Regions from separate parts of the Homo sapiens genome. Here region 2 is linked to region 1. The links are contacts of gene promoters, found by promoter capture Hi-C in human tissues and cell types (Jung and others, 2019). All regions are on one chromosome and are shown on one strand. Each heading gives the region's core, a stretch centred on a gene start or on the middle of the fragment in contact. The rest is flanking DNA. Distances are from core to core; before and after follow the strand shown. Region 1 holds the start of CA10 (carbonic anhydrase 10). Region 2 has its middle 50 kb from the start of CA10.

Region 1 (5,700 bases), core at 1,830-4,329:
AACTAATGTAGTTGGGTTCTAAATTGCATTGTCTACCATTAAATTTTAATACCACCTTTGATTAACTTCCAGCTGTCATATGTGTACTTCTGTTCTCTTTAAGTGCAAAATAACCTCCCCAAGATGATATTTTTCATTTTACAGAGCATATAAGGAAGTGGTGTGACATGACTTCTGAGTTTAGACTTTCCAGCTATGGTCTCTACACTACTGATTTGCAGCTGTGGAGCCTTGGGCAAATAACTACCCTGGTATTGTTTTATTGTCAGTAAAAGGGAAGTGATAATGACATTTATCTCACCATCACATTATGATGATTAAATGAGATAATTTATGTAAGGGATTCAGAATCTTCACACATAGTCTTCACACATAACAATCAATACACATAATACTTCACACACAACAATCAATACACTCAAACTTTTTTTAAACTAACAAATACTGTCATGTGAGTTGCCTTTTTTAAAAACTGAAAGCACTTAGTGGCAGATCACAGATTAAATATTCTTTGGGAATGCTGGAGGTGAGTATGCAGACTGAAAGGGTGGAAATAAAGTATTATTTTACTGGCATTGGCTCTTAAAGCAGAATATAGAGGGATATATGGTCTGCAGATTTTTTTGAAAGCAAGGATAATGCATTTTCAATTACAAAGCCCAAGCATCTTGCCACAGTGTTTGACACATATAAGACACTTAATAATTGCAGAATTCATTAGTAAATGAGTGGGTAGTGACATAAAAATTCAGGCACCATGCTTCTGCTTCCAGAGGAGAGACCTCTTCTGCCAGCCTATCTCCCCACCCAAGCAGGGATGGTAGGTCGCTGTCCACGGTTCTGAACTCTCACCAGGCTGGAATCTGCTCATCTTTGTCAGACTGCTTTTTTTTTTTTCTTTCTCCCTCTCTCCTCAAAAAAAGAAAAAGAAAAAAGAAAAAAGAGAGAAAGAAAGAAAGAAAGAAAGAAAGAAAGAAAGAAAGAAAGAAAGAAAGAAAAAATAATAATAATTCTTCATGCAGTCTACTTTCAAGGCACGGAGACAAATGCCCCCATATATTTCCCAAATGGGCTAATTCTCACTATCCGGAATTCTTTTAATGTTCTGAAGTTTCATGCTTTTCCCTGCTGAGCCTGGAAGCTCTCTACATAAGAATGCTGGATTTATTTCATCTGGGCCTAGATTTTTAATGTGTTGACCACCTAGAGTCCTTGGCCTTTGTTTCACAGAACAGATCTCACGGCCACATCTCCTTCTTTAAGAGTAGGCAGGTCTGTCGGCGGTTCCTTTTTCGAATCCCTAGAGTCGGTGGGACTACGTAGCTCTGGCTCCCGCAGCCGCCCAGCCCAGACAGCTCAGAGAGCTGCTGATCTGCTCTGCGTTCTCTCTTTTTCCTCCCTCTTCTCCCCGCCACTCAGCAAAAAGACCCGCCAGACTCCTGGGCAGTTGGAGTCCCTTCAAGAACCCTGGGAGCACTGTAATGTAACTCCTTTAGCTCCCACTCCGCACCCTCAGATGTCGCACAGCCTGGGTGCTGGGATCAACACGGGAAGATTCACTAGATTGACTCTGTGCGGATGAACGGGCACCCTTTCCTTCCCCTCCTCCATCTCCACTTATCTACCCTTTGTGCAGTTCTTAGACCGAGGTTTATACTGAAATAGCTTCTAAACATCAAATATTAAAAGTGGATAAAAAATCCCCGCGGGGTATGTGTGTGTTTGTGTTTGTTATGTGTGTGTTCATCCGCGCTTGTGCAAAATCTCCTAACGTCACAGTTCCCAATCGGGACAAGCGCGCCGAGAAATCCTGGATCTTCCCAGGGATTCCCTCTACGCTCCCTCCTCTTCTTCAATAACCCCAAAGAGGTAGGTTTGAGCTTTCGCAAACCACCACTGCAGCGATGGAAGCAGACAAATCTGTTGAGATTTTGTCTTTCCCCTTTCGTTCCCAGCCCTCTTAGGCAAGCAGTTCTGAGCACAGGGTTTTCTTCAATTCCCCTGCATCCACACTGCAACCGGGTGCAAGTCTTTCCTAGGTTATAGACAGCCCGCCTCCCCACGAGACCTTCTGCGGACTGGCTGCCCCTGGCCTCGGCCTGGGTGGGTGGGTGGTGCTCGCGCCGCCCCTACTTTCCCCTGGGGCCCTGGAGAGCCGCGCGCTGGGTGTGTGTGTGTGTGCGCGCGCGGGTTTGGTGGGGAAATCTCCTTCAGTGGAAGCTGCTGAGTGTCGTTGGCGGAAAGTATCCTGGAGCCCAGCAAAAGCCTCCAAAGCACTAGAGCTTCCCTAAAGAAAAGCAGAATAAAAGAAAGACAAGAAGGGAAGCCCGTTCCTCTAAAGCCCGGGTTTCCAATAGTCCCGGATCCTCCTGGAGTTGGGCGAAGGCGCAGTTGGCAGCAGCCGCTGCTGGCACCCGGACTTGGAAAGGCGGTGTTCCCCCTTTTCGGGAGGAGGGAGGCAGGGACTTGCAGGCAAGAGTTGCACCTGGTCTAGGAACCTGCAGAGAAAAGAACTCTGGGGTAAGTAGTGTTCTGGCACTGGCACGGAAAGGGGTAAAGGGTGGGGGGCATGAGAGGGACGAAATGGAGAGGGCAGGGAATGAATTATGCAAAAAAATCTCCAATATTTCGCAGCGGAGGGAGAGCACAGCACAGCACTCCCAGGATGAGTCCTGCCTGGGTCTCCCGCGCCGAACCCGCAGCACGAAGTTCTTTTTAAGAAGAGAAACTCGAAAATCCTGGAGGGTAACAGAGGCAGCCAGGGCGGGGCGGAGTGCGGAGGCGGCTGCCAGGGACTGGGGCCGAGGCGGCGGCCAAGGTGGCCTGAAGCTGTGACACCCAGCCTCCTCCTCCTCCTCCTCATGGCCGCGCTCAGCCTCACCTCCCCGCCCGGGCCTCCTGCCTCCGCCCCCGGGTGCCGGGCTGCGGAGCTGACGCTGGGACGCCCGGCGGCGGCGAGGACGCTCACCTGGCCAAGCCTCCTTCTCCTCCTCCCCCTCCCGCCCCCACCTGTCCTCCTCCTCTCTGAGTTGGGAAGCGTAGGGATCCGTAGGCGAGGAAATAACGACCCCTGCAGTTGTATTGCGGAAAATCTCGACAGCGGCGCTAGTTGCGGGCGATGGAAGCCAGGCAACTGGGGGTTCTGGGGAGTTCAGGAAAATAGCAGAGGAGCAGGAAGGGCGCGCGCGACCTGGAGAGTCTGTGTGCCCCCACCGCGCCCCAGTCCCCGGGGCCCAGCCCTTCCCCTCGGCGCCCTGGACGCACTGCCGGAACCCGGCTGAGAGGCTGCAGGCTGCGCGCGGACCTGGGGAGCAGGGAGGGTCGGCGGAGGCTGCCGGCGGCTGGCGGTTTCGGGCAATAATCCCTGCCTCTCTTTCTCTGTGTGTCTGCTGTGTCTGCTCCTTCCCCGCCCCCCGGAAGCAGGAGAAGAACTGCCCCGGAGCGCAGCAGCCACCCTCCGACCATGCCCCGGTGAGGGGGGCGGACTTCGAGGGCAACTTGCCGCGGACTGCCTGGGCTTAGCCAGCGAGCTACGCGCTCCCGGGAGCCCGGAATTGCACGGCGCAGCCCGGCGGGGGGCTATCGTCTATGTCTTCTTGGGGCGCCAGACGAATCGGGGTCTCGTTTTTGCTGGAAGAGCCCAGTGTTGGTGGCTTCAGGTGGCTGCTGCCGCCGCCGCCGCCGCCGCCGCTGCTAGTGCGGTTTCCGCCGCTGGTGCGAAGAGAAGAGACACGCGAGCGGGGAGACCTCCAAGGCAGCGAGGCATCGGACATGTGTCAGCACATCTGGGGCGCACATCCGTCGAGCCCGAGGGGAGATTTGCCGGAACAATTCAAACTGCGATATTGATCTTGGGGGTGACTGTCCCTGGCCGGCTGTCGGGTGGGAGTGCGAGTGTGCACTCGCTCGGAAGTGTGTGCGAGTGTGTATGTGTGTGTGCCGTGTCGGGCTCCCCCCTTCCCCCCGTTTTCCCGTCGAGTGATGCACTTGGAATGAGAATCAGAGGATGGAAATAGTCTGGGAGGTGCTTTTTCTTCTTCAAGCCAATTTCATCGTCTGCATATCAGGTACGGGACGCGCCGAAGTCACTGGCTGATTTGGATTATGTTGTGATGTCTGGGGTGTATGGGGTTTTATTGTATATAGCCGCGGGGCAGAGAGAGGGGTGGCGAGACCCTTTGAGTTCTGCGGGTTTGCCGCCTTCAGAATCAAAAATCTTCTCAGCCCAAGGGTGTGTGAATGTGTGTGTTTTGCGGGGGGGGGTGGTTAGGATCTGTGTGCAGTCCTAGAAGGGTGAAGGAAAAAGTGGTGGGGGATGAGAAAGAAGAGGCAGATGGGTGTTGATTTTCAACTGCTTTCCTGGCTGAGAACTCTGGCGCCGAAATCCGAGCCTTGGCAACAACCACCCCCATCCCCTGGCTTTCAAAGTTCCCAGACTCGGTGGTTCCTGGCTGGCAAAATGGACGCGGGGCCCTGCCCGGGTATCTAACCACTTTCAAGAGACTGCGGGAGGATGCGGGACTGGAGAGTACCAGCAGGGATCAGAGATATGTCCTCCATGCCTTACCCAAACACATCAGGACTGATTGTGATGCTTTGAAACCTGCTGACACACCCTCCTCTACCCCCCCAATTTTCTTGTTAAAGCACTACAGTGTCACAAATACCACTTTCTTTACATCACGGTGTTTTTTAATTCCCAGTAGCAAGGATGTGCTGGCTCAGACCTCTCAGTCTACTTGGGCCTGTCTGTGCTTTTAAGAGCAAACGGGATTTCAGGGTGTTGAGGTGAAAGAGGTTGGGCTTGTGGACACCTGTGCCTGAGTGTGTTAGGACGAGTTCTGGTTTTTGAGCACTGTCTTTGTTGATGCAGGGAATTGGGGTTGGGAGGAAGCTGGGAGGGAAAGGGGAAAGCCCCTGGACCAGCAGTATTCCCCAGTTCAGTGGCTCCTCCCATTGAAGGCACCCACCCCATTTCCCTTCACACCTGCCACTTAAGCACCCAAGGAAAAGCCCATTTGTAGTGCTCCCTTCTGCCTGCATTCTTCTGCAGAAGTGGGGACTCGGCCAACTTCCCATGAAGTCATCAGAAGAGGAGAGCAGGATATTGCCCCTTTGAGCAGCCACATTTAAGCAGCACTGGGGTGGAGAGACATGTTTCCTGCCTCTTCCTTCAGCCCTGTCAATCCCCTCCCTTTAAGCCAGACCTGATTCTGGATAGGAGAAAACAACCCTAGTTCTGCCCTCACCCTGGACTCTGTTCCAAATCCCAGTCTGGCTTCCAATTTTCTCCTCATAGGGAAGGAATGGGACTCTTATCCGAAATCATTCTGTGTGGGGCTTGGCTACCCTATTAAGAAATTTGTCTCTGTGATACATCAGTGAGATGTGTTGTGTACCTGGCAGACAAGAAAATGTGCCCTGGGGTCACCCCAACTCCTCTAGTGGGACTTCTATTATTCCATTCTGCATCTAGGAGTGAAAATTCTCAAGTGACTTGTAAAGGTTTATATCAGTCATATGTCCAGATATGAAGTGGGTGGCATCTCACAAGGCCATATTTTACATCTTTCTCTTCTACATGTCTATTTCAAACTCTCTCTCTTGTTCCAGAATATTTGACTAGTTATAAAATAGCCTTTCCTTACTTCTCCCCAGTGTCATTAATAATTTTCAAATCAGACAAGCCATCTGAGTACC
Region 2 (6,536 bases), core at 1,863-4,362, 50 kb before region 1:
ATAAACACCAAAATTATAACTGATTTTTTTTTTGAGACAGGGTCTTGCTCTGTTGCCCAGGCTGGAGTGTAGTGACACGATCTCTGTTCACTGCAACCTCTGCTTCCCTGGTTCAAGCTATCCTCCCACCTCAGCCTCCCTAGTAGCTGGGACTACAGGTGCATGCCACCACTCCCAGCTAAGTTTTGTGTTTTTAGTAGAGATGGGGTTTCACCATGTTGGCCAGCCTTATCTCGAACTCCTGACCTCAGGTGATCTGCCTGCCTCGGCCTCCCAAAGTGCTGGGATTACAGGCGTGAGCCACCACTCCCAGCCTTTATTTTTTATTATGTTAAGTTTCCTTAAAGGAGCTTCTAATTAGTTTATCTACTGCCACTTAAGACATTTGCAAGCCTATCTGCAAAGCTCTTTGTATAGTGGAATGAGTAACAGGGAAGAAAGTTAAGGGTTCCTCAACTTTGTACAAGAAACATGGGTCAACATCAGACAGAAGGGCAGATTTCCAGCAATCACTCTGCATTATTTACATGACTCCATGCTCCATCAAATCTCCTAGGAAGGAGAGAGTTGTAGCACTGAAACTCCACAATAAGTCTCTGAGAACTTAGCTGTGGCTTTACACAGAGTTTCAAAGAGTTGTAGCTCAAAAGAAATGCAGGTTATATGACAATATTAATGCCCTGCACGGATTAGCTTCAACCATGATATCTACATTAATCTTTTCTTTTACCTGCAGATCTTCCAGAAAATTCTTAGCTCAAGACAACTTGGTACAAGCAACTATGGAAGCTCATCAGTGAGAGACAGAAAACAAACTGGGTTGGAATAAAATCTAGGTGGATGAATTAACTAAATAGAAGATAAGTACTTGATGGCAGTAACCCACAGTACAATCACGATATTCAGAAGGATGTGGTGAGGTTGAGCTTATTCTAATCCTGTGCTCTCCTGCTGCATGAAATACCAAGTCCAGGCAGTGGAAGCATTTTGGTTACAAATGAAACATCTACATGGAACAGGAGCGCAGTCAGCATCAAAGGCTATAAGTTAACAGTGTCTATCTCTAAAACAGATGGGTGTTAAGGACTTGGTGAGATGTCAGTGTCTCAGCAAAGTGTCCCAGGCTTCACTAGAGGAATCAGTATCTGAATCAAGACACCAACGTAGCAGTTCAGAACCAAAGCTCCACAAACCAATGATTTTTGTTTTGTTTTGTTTTGTTTTTGTTTTTGTTTTTTAAAGTGGTGATATGGTTTTGTTGTGTCCCCGCCCAAATCTCACCTTGAATTATAATAATCCCCATATGTCATGGGATGGGCCCAGTGGGAGGTAATTGAATAATGAGGGCCAGGTCTTTCCCATGCTGTTCTCATGATAGTGAGTAAATCTCATGAGATCTGATGGTTTTATAAAGAGGCGTTCCCCTGCACACACTGTTTTGCCTGTTGCCATGTAAGACATCCCTTTGCTCTTCCTTTGACTGCCGCCATAATTATGGGGCTTCCCCAGCCATGTGGAACTGTGATTCCATTAAACCTCTTTCCTTTATAATTTACCCGGTCTTGGGTATGTCTGTATTAGCAGCATGGGAACAAACTAACCCAAGTGCCAAAACCATACAGGTGGAGTTCCCAAGCAAGTTGGCTAGTGTACTGTACTATACAAAGAATAGTTCCAGGCCCCATCAGCTGGAGTGGCTGGTTCTGATACTCTGCCCCCTACCTTGCTCAGGTCTGACTAAGAACCTAGGCAAGGTATATATACCTTTAGTTGAAATGCCTTCAACATCTGAGCTGACTCATGTCAAGGGAAGCAGGAACTAACATTGTGAGCATCTAGTATTTACCTACCTAGACTCATTTTTATCAGCCTATTTTCTTTACACTGACACCAGCACAGTACACATTTTTTTCCCAGTATTTCTGAGATTATGTAAGCCTCACCATCACTTATATAAAAGTTGGGTTTTATGTTACCTGATAAAAGCCATGATTTTTTGAGTACCTACTATATTCCAGGTACTACACTAGGTATTTCAAATACAGTACTGATTTTCAAAACAGTGCAAAATAGGTATCCTTATGCTCAGAAGAGGTAGATAACTTTCTCAAGGTTATAACACAGGGCTGAGATATAAACCCAGATACATCTGACTCCCAAGTGTGTGTATCTTGCACTACATTTCCCTGAGAAATATTTAAATTCATTTTAATGTAAGTTTTCTGTGTGAAGTTTTTAATATAACCAGTTAAACATAAGCTCTTTCCTTCAACCTGAGTCTGATTTCAATGTACGTTCAATCCTTTAAAAATGCTTTTCATATTGAAAAGCAGTTTTAGCAGAATAAACACTGATCAGAAATGAGATGTGAGATCTCATGCCAGTGAGTCATGTGACCTTGGGAAGTCTTTCACTTATCTAGAAAAATGTTCTTAAAAAAAAACGTGGGGGAGTAAAGACTAGCAGTGGGGGAAGGACTAAACTTGAAAAATTAAACTCTGAGAGTATCTTCTAGCTCTCCAAACTTAAGGGTCTCTCCAATCCTTTAGAAGTCATTCTCTTTATATACTTTAAACACTACCTTTTGCAAAGGAATCATAAAAAAAAGATAATTTTAAATTTACTTTAAAAAAATTATCCAGCTGTCTGCATATCTCAACAAGTTAGTCAACTTCCTTCACTTGTGTGCAACTTATGAGCATGGCAATTATGATATTTGAAGTTGACAACTCAAAGCTATTTGAAGCCGACAACTCAAAGCTATTTGAAGCCTTGTTAACCAATGAAAATGTATAGATACAGATAGCAAATAAATCAAATTCTTGTCTTCAACTAGAAATGCATTTTCAACATAATTCAATTTAAGGAACCAGTGTCTTAGTTTTAACCGTGAAAATATCATTAGATGATGTATGTGAAAAAAAAAAAAAGAGACTAGATGTAATCATGTCCTTCACAAAAGAGTTGACACTTGCAATGTTAGTACTGCAAATAAAAGTGTTTTCAGACCTTAAAATAAAAGTCTGTGGAATTCTTCAGGTACACAGCTGTAACAAAATCACCTATCTGACTGCCTTTGTGGCCTAAGCTAAGGACTATGTGAAAGAGAGAAAGGAAAAAAAAAAAGGAAAGAAAGAAAGGGAAGGGATGGGAAGACCTAGAAGGAAGCACATAATAGACTGCTTTGACTAGGTAATTTTTCACATAATGTTAAATGCAGATGGTTAGAATAGTTCATCGTGATTTTGCAGTCTGGTCTCAGGTTTATTGCTAGAATTAATTTCTACATTTCTGTGAAGGACATTATACATTCCATTCCTATGGTTTTAAATAATAAATTAATTTTAATGCATTTTTGCTCTCACTTGAATGGAAAAGATGAAGAGCAACTGATAGGCTCTGAGTTTTTAGAACGCCTTTCAACAAGATTAAAAGCATAAGGCATCCCAAGTCGGCTCTTCTAAAAACAGAAAGTGGCCATCTGCTGGGGCTGCAGAGCTGTTCTACTCTAGAGTGCCATGTAGTCCAGCAGAACAGACACAGCACAAGGTACACTCCTTGACCAAACTGATCCTTAGACAGAGTCATGGCTTTGTGTGCTTTCAATCAACATATTGTTTGAGGTGCCCTCTATTTCTATGTGACATAACTAATGAAAAGAAAAAAGCTACTTGTAATCATACCAGAACTAGAAAATGAAAATAACCCCAGTGAACTCGCTAGCAATCCTAAAGAATTCCTGGGTTTCCCTACAGTTATTCCAGCTAGCAGGTGGAACTAGGGAGGGAAATTGTGTTGCTCATTATAAATTAAATGCTATGTTAGGACTTGAGTAGAAAGTGGAATGAAATTATTTTAATTTTGTTTGTTCATTTCGTTTTTTGCTTTCTTCCAGCACCTCTTTCCTGTTTGTAAATCTTCACCTATCTTCAATCCTTTCTTGTTTGCCTTTCTACACTGTATGGTACTGAAAATTGTGCTGGAAAGCCAATTCTCAAGGAAGTCTCTTCTCTTAATTTACTCTCCAATTTCTAATGGGTGCATTTTTCTGAGGTCCAAGCATAAAGCTTGGGTGAATTTTTCTTCCATTAAATACAGAATTCCATGATCTTTATTTAAAAATATATTGATATCTGATGGGAAGACCAGACACCTGAAAAGACATGCTGACTCTCAGTCAGTCTTAATGATTAACCCAGGCCCACTGAAAGCAGATTTGAGAACACAATGCTACACTTTATTGTTCATCAATTGATTGAATACTGAGATATTTCAGGAAGATATGTGTGGCAAACACTGTTAGCTGGCAAAGCCAACAGCCATCCTCCAGCCAGCCCCTTTTTCCTTGCCTACATTCATCTATAGGCTGAGAAGGCTAAATGCTTGTCCAGTCTCCCATACAGCTCACAATGGCCATGTGAGTTTCAGGCAATGAGAGAGGAGCAGAAGTCTGATGGGGACTTCTGGAAACACATGTGCTTTCCTCATAAAAAGAACAAGTAAACTGGCATTTCTTCCCTTGTCTCCTTTCTTTCTACTTTGGATGCAGATGTAATGTCTGTAACTATTGCAGCCACCTTTGAGGCAACAAGTATAAAGACAAAAGCCAAGAAGCAAAAGATAATGGAGTAAAATTAGAAGCAGATCCTGAGGCCCTGGTAGCACAATGAGCCAGCTGAACCAACAACTTGCCTCCATATTTCTAGTGAATGAAAAAAAAATGCCTCTATTTGTTTAAGCCGCTGTTTTTCTGGTTTTTGTTTCTTGCCATTGAAATCCTTCCAAATGATAGAGCAGTTGTGTTTTCAAAATCTAATAAGCTACTTCTGTGTGGTGATCATAAAATCTGGCATTTGTTTAGCATTTCCCAATTTACAAAGTTGGGTTTTGCCATATATTATCTCATTTAATCTGTACAATAGGATGGTAAAGCAGGAATTACAAACATAGCTTTAAAGATGAGCCAAGTTAAGCACAGAGGGTTTAAAGTAACTTGCTCAAACTCACAGAAAGAGAACATGGCACAATTGAGGACTTGGACTCTTAGCCTCTGACTCCAGTTCCCAGCTGATCATAATTTTCTCATATTGGAAACCAAACTCTTGACTTTGCCTATTTATTATGTTCTTCATAATCCCCGAAGTACTTCTGTGAATCAGTCTTTAAAAGATAACAGACAGGAATTGGATAGAAATTTCTGAACTCATAGCCTGGAATGAACTAAAGCACTTTGATAAACCCTGAAGTTTTAAAGAGGAATAGTAGGAAATAATTCAATTCTAAGGATTTCACAGGCTACTAAAAAAGACAAACATATAAACAAGTTATTCTAATTATAATATAGAGTGGGGATAATGGTTGGATGTTTATCTCAGTACAGGAATCTTAATTCTTCCTTTGGGGGAGTGGGGATGAGGAATGCATGAAGGAGGAAGCCATGGAAACAAAAACAGGGCATGCCACTAAGCAGTTCTGTATGGCTGTGATATATTTGGAGTGGGGTGATTTATAGGGCTTCAAAGCCAAACATGTCTAGATCATCAAGATTCTTATAGGTACTAGGGTTTTTCTATTTAGGTGGGTGATTAAGATCAATAAAAATATTTCAAACATGGTCATGTTATATATAGAATTATATTTTTGAATACATCTTTGGCATCAGGCAATAAACTGGAAGTAGACAAGACTGGAGACAGGGGGCGAGTAGGATGCTGGGGCAAGCTTCCCAGCAAGATATAATGAGACCACAAACTCCAGTAATGTCTGTGGGTTGCATAGGAGGAAACAGATTGGAGACATATTCAGATATTATAATCTATGGGCTATAGTAGACAACTGGACACAGTTGAAGGGGTGGTTGGTATGTGAGAAGGAAAATATAGGATTATACGCAGGTTTCTGGCTTGGGCTACTAAGGAGGTGGTGGTGCCATTTATAATAGAAAATACTAGAGAAGAAGTATAGAGGGGTAGAGAGGCATAAAAAGGAAAATAAATTCCACATTGCATATGTTGAGTCCAATAGCCTTTTAGAACCTCCAGATAGGGATGTTCTATCAGAACATGAAAGATCAGAATGAATCAGAAATGAAAGATGTAATTCAACAAATATTTCTGGACTGGAGACATCAATTTCTGAAGTTATGGAGGTAAATAAAATCTCACTGGGAGCATGTGTAGAGTCAGAGAAGAAGGAAATAGAGCTCTGTAGGAACATAGACATTTAAAGAGTGAGCAAAAGCATGGGATCCAATGAATGGAATGAAGTAAGAGAAACCAGAAGGGGAGGAGAAAAGCAAGCAAACAGAGAGAAGTTCTTTCCAGAAAGCTTCCAAATAGGTCTCAAGAAGTTAGTGAGTGGGCAATAATAATCTTAGTAATAATAGATGACACTATTGAGCACTTACATGCAATATTGCTTTTCATCTCTGTACTGTCAATGATCATAAAGAGGTTAAGTAATACAAGGGCTGAAAATTTACAATTGGATTTTGCCACAAGTGAATCTGAAGAGGTTACATAATTATCATGACGATG

The links. Contacts are between HindIII fragments. The study calls those that stand out against the background at their distance.
Region 2: a fragment that was not itself captured here is called in contact with the fragment with the promoter of CA10 in region 1 in 3 of the 25 tissues and cell types used here (dorsolateral prefrontal cortex, heart left ventricle and hippocampus).

Annotation. Positions count from the first base shown.
Region 1 is chr17:52,156,093-52,161,792 of GRCh38, reverse strand. It overlaps CA10 (carbonic anhydrase 10), which reads left to right and starts at 3,079. Exons shown (of 9, transcript NM_020178.5): 1 at 3,079-4,067. The coding sequence starts at 4,007. RefSeq lists a silencer at 2,230-2,524. The HindIII fragment of the contact is 19,034 bases long and covers 1-5,700 here.
Region 2 is chr17:52,204,952-52,211,487 of GRCh38, reverse strand. No RefSeq gene overlaps it. Among named protein-coding and RNA genes, the nearest start is that of CA10, 50 kb to the right of the region's middle. The HindIII fragment of the contact is 6,819 bases long and covers 1-6,521 here.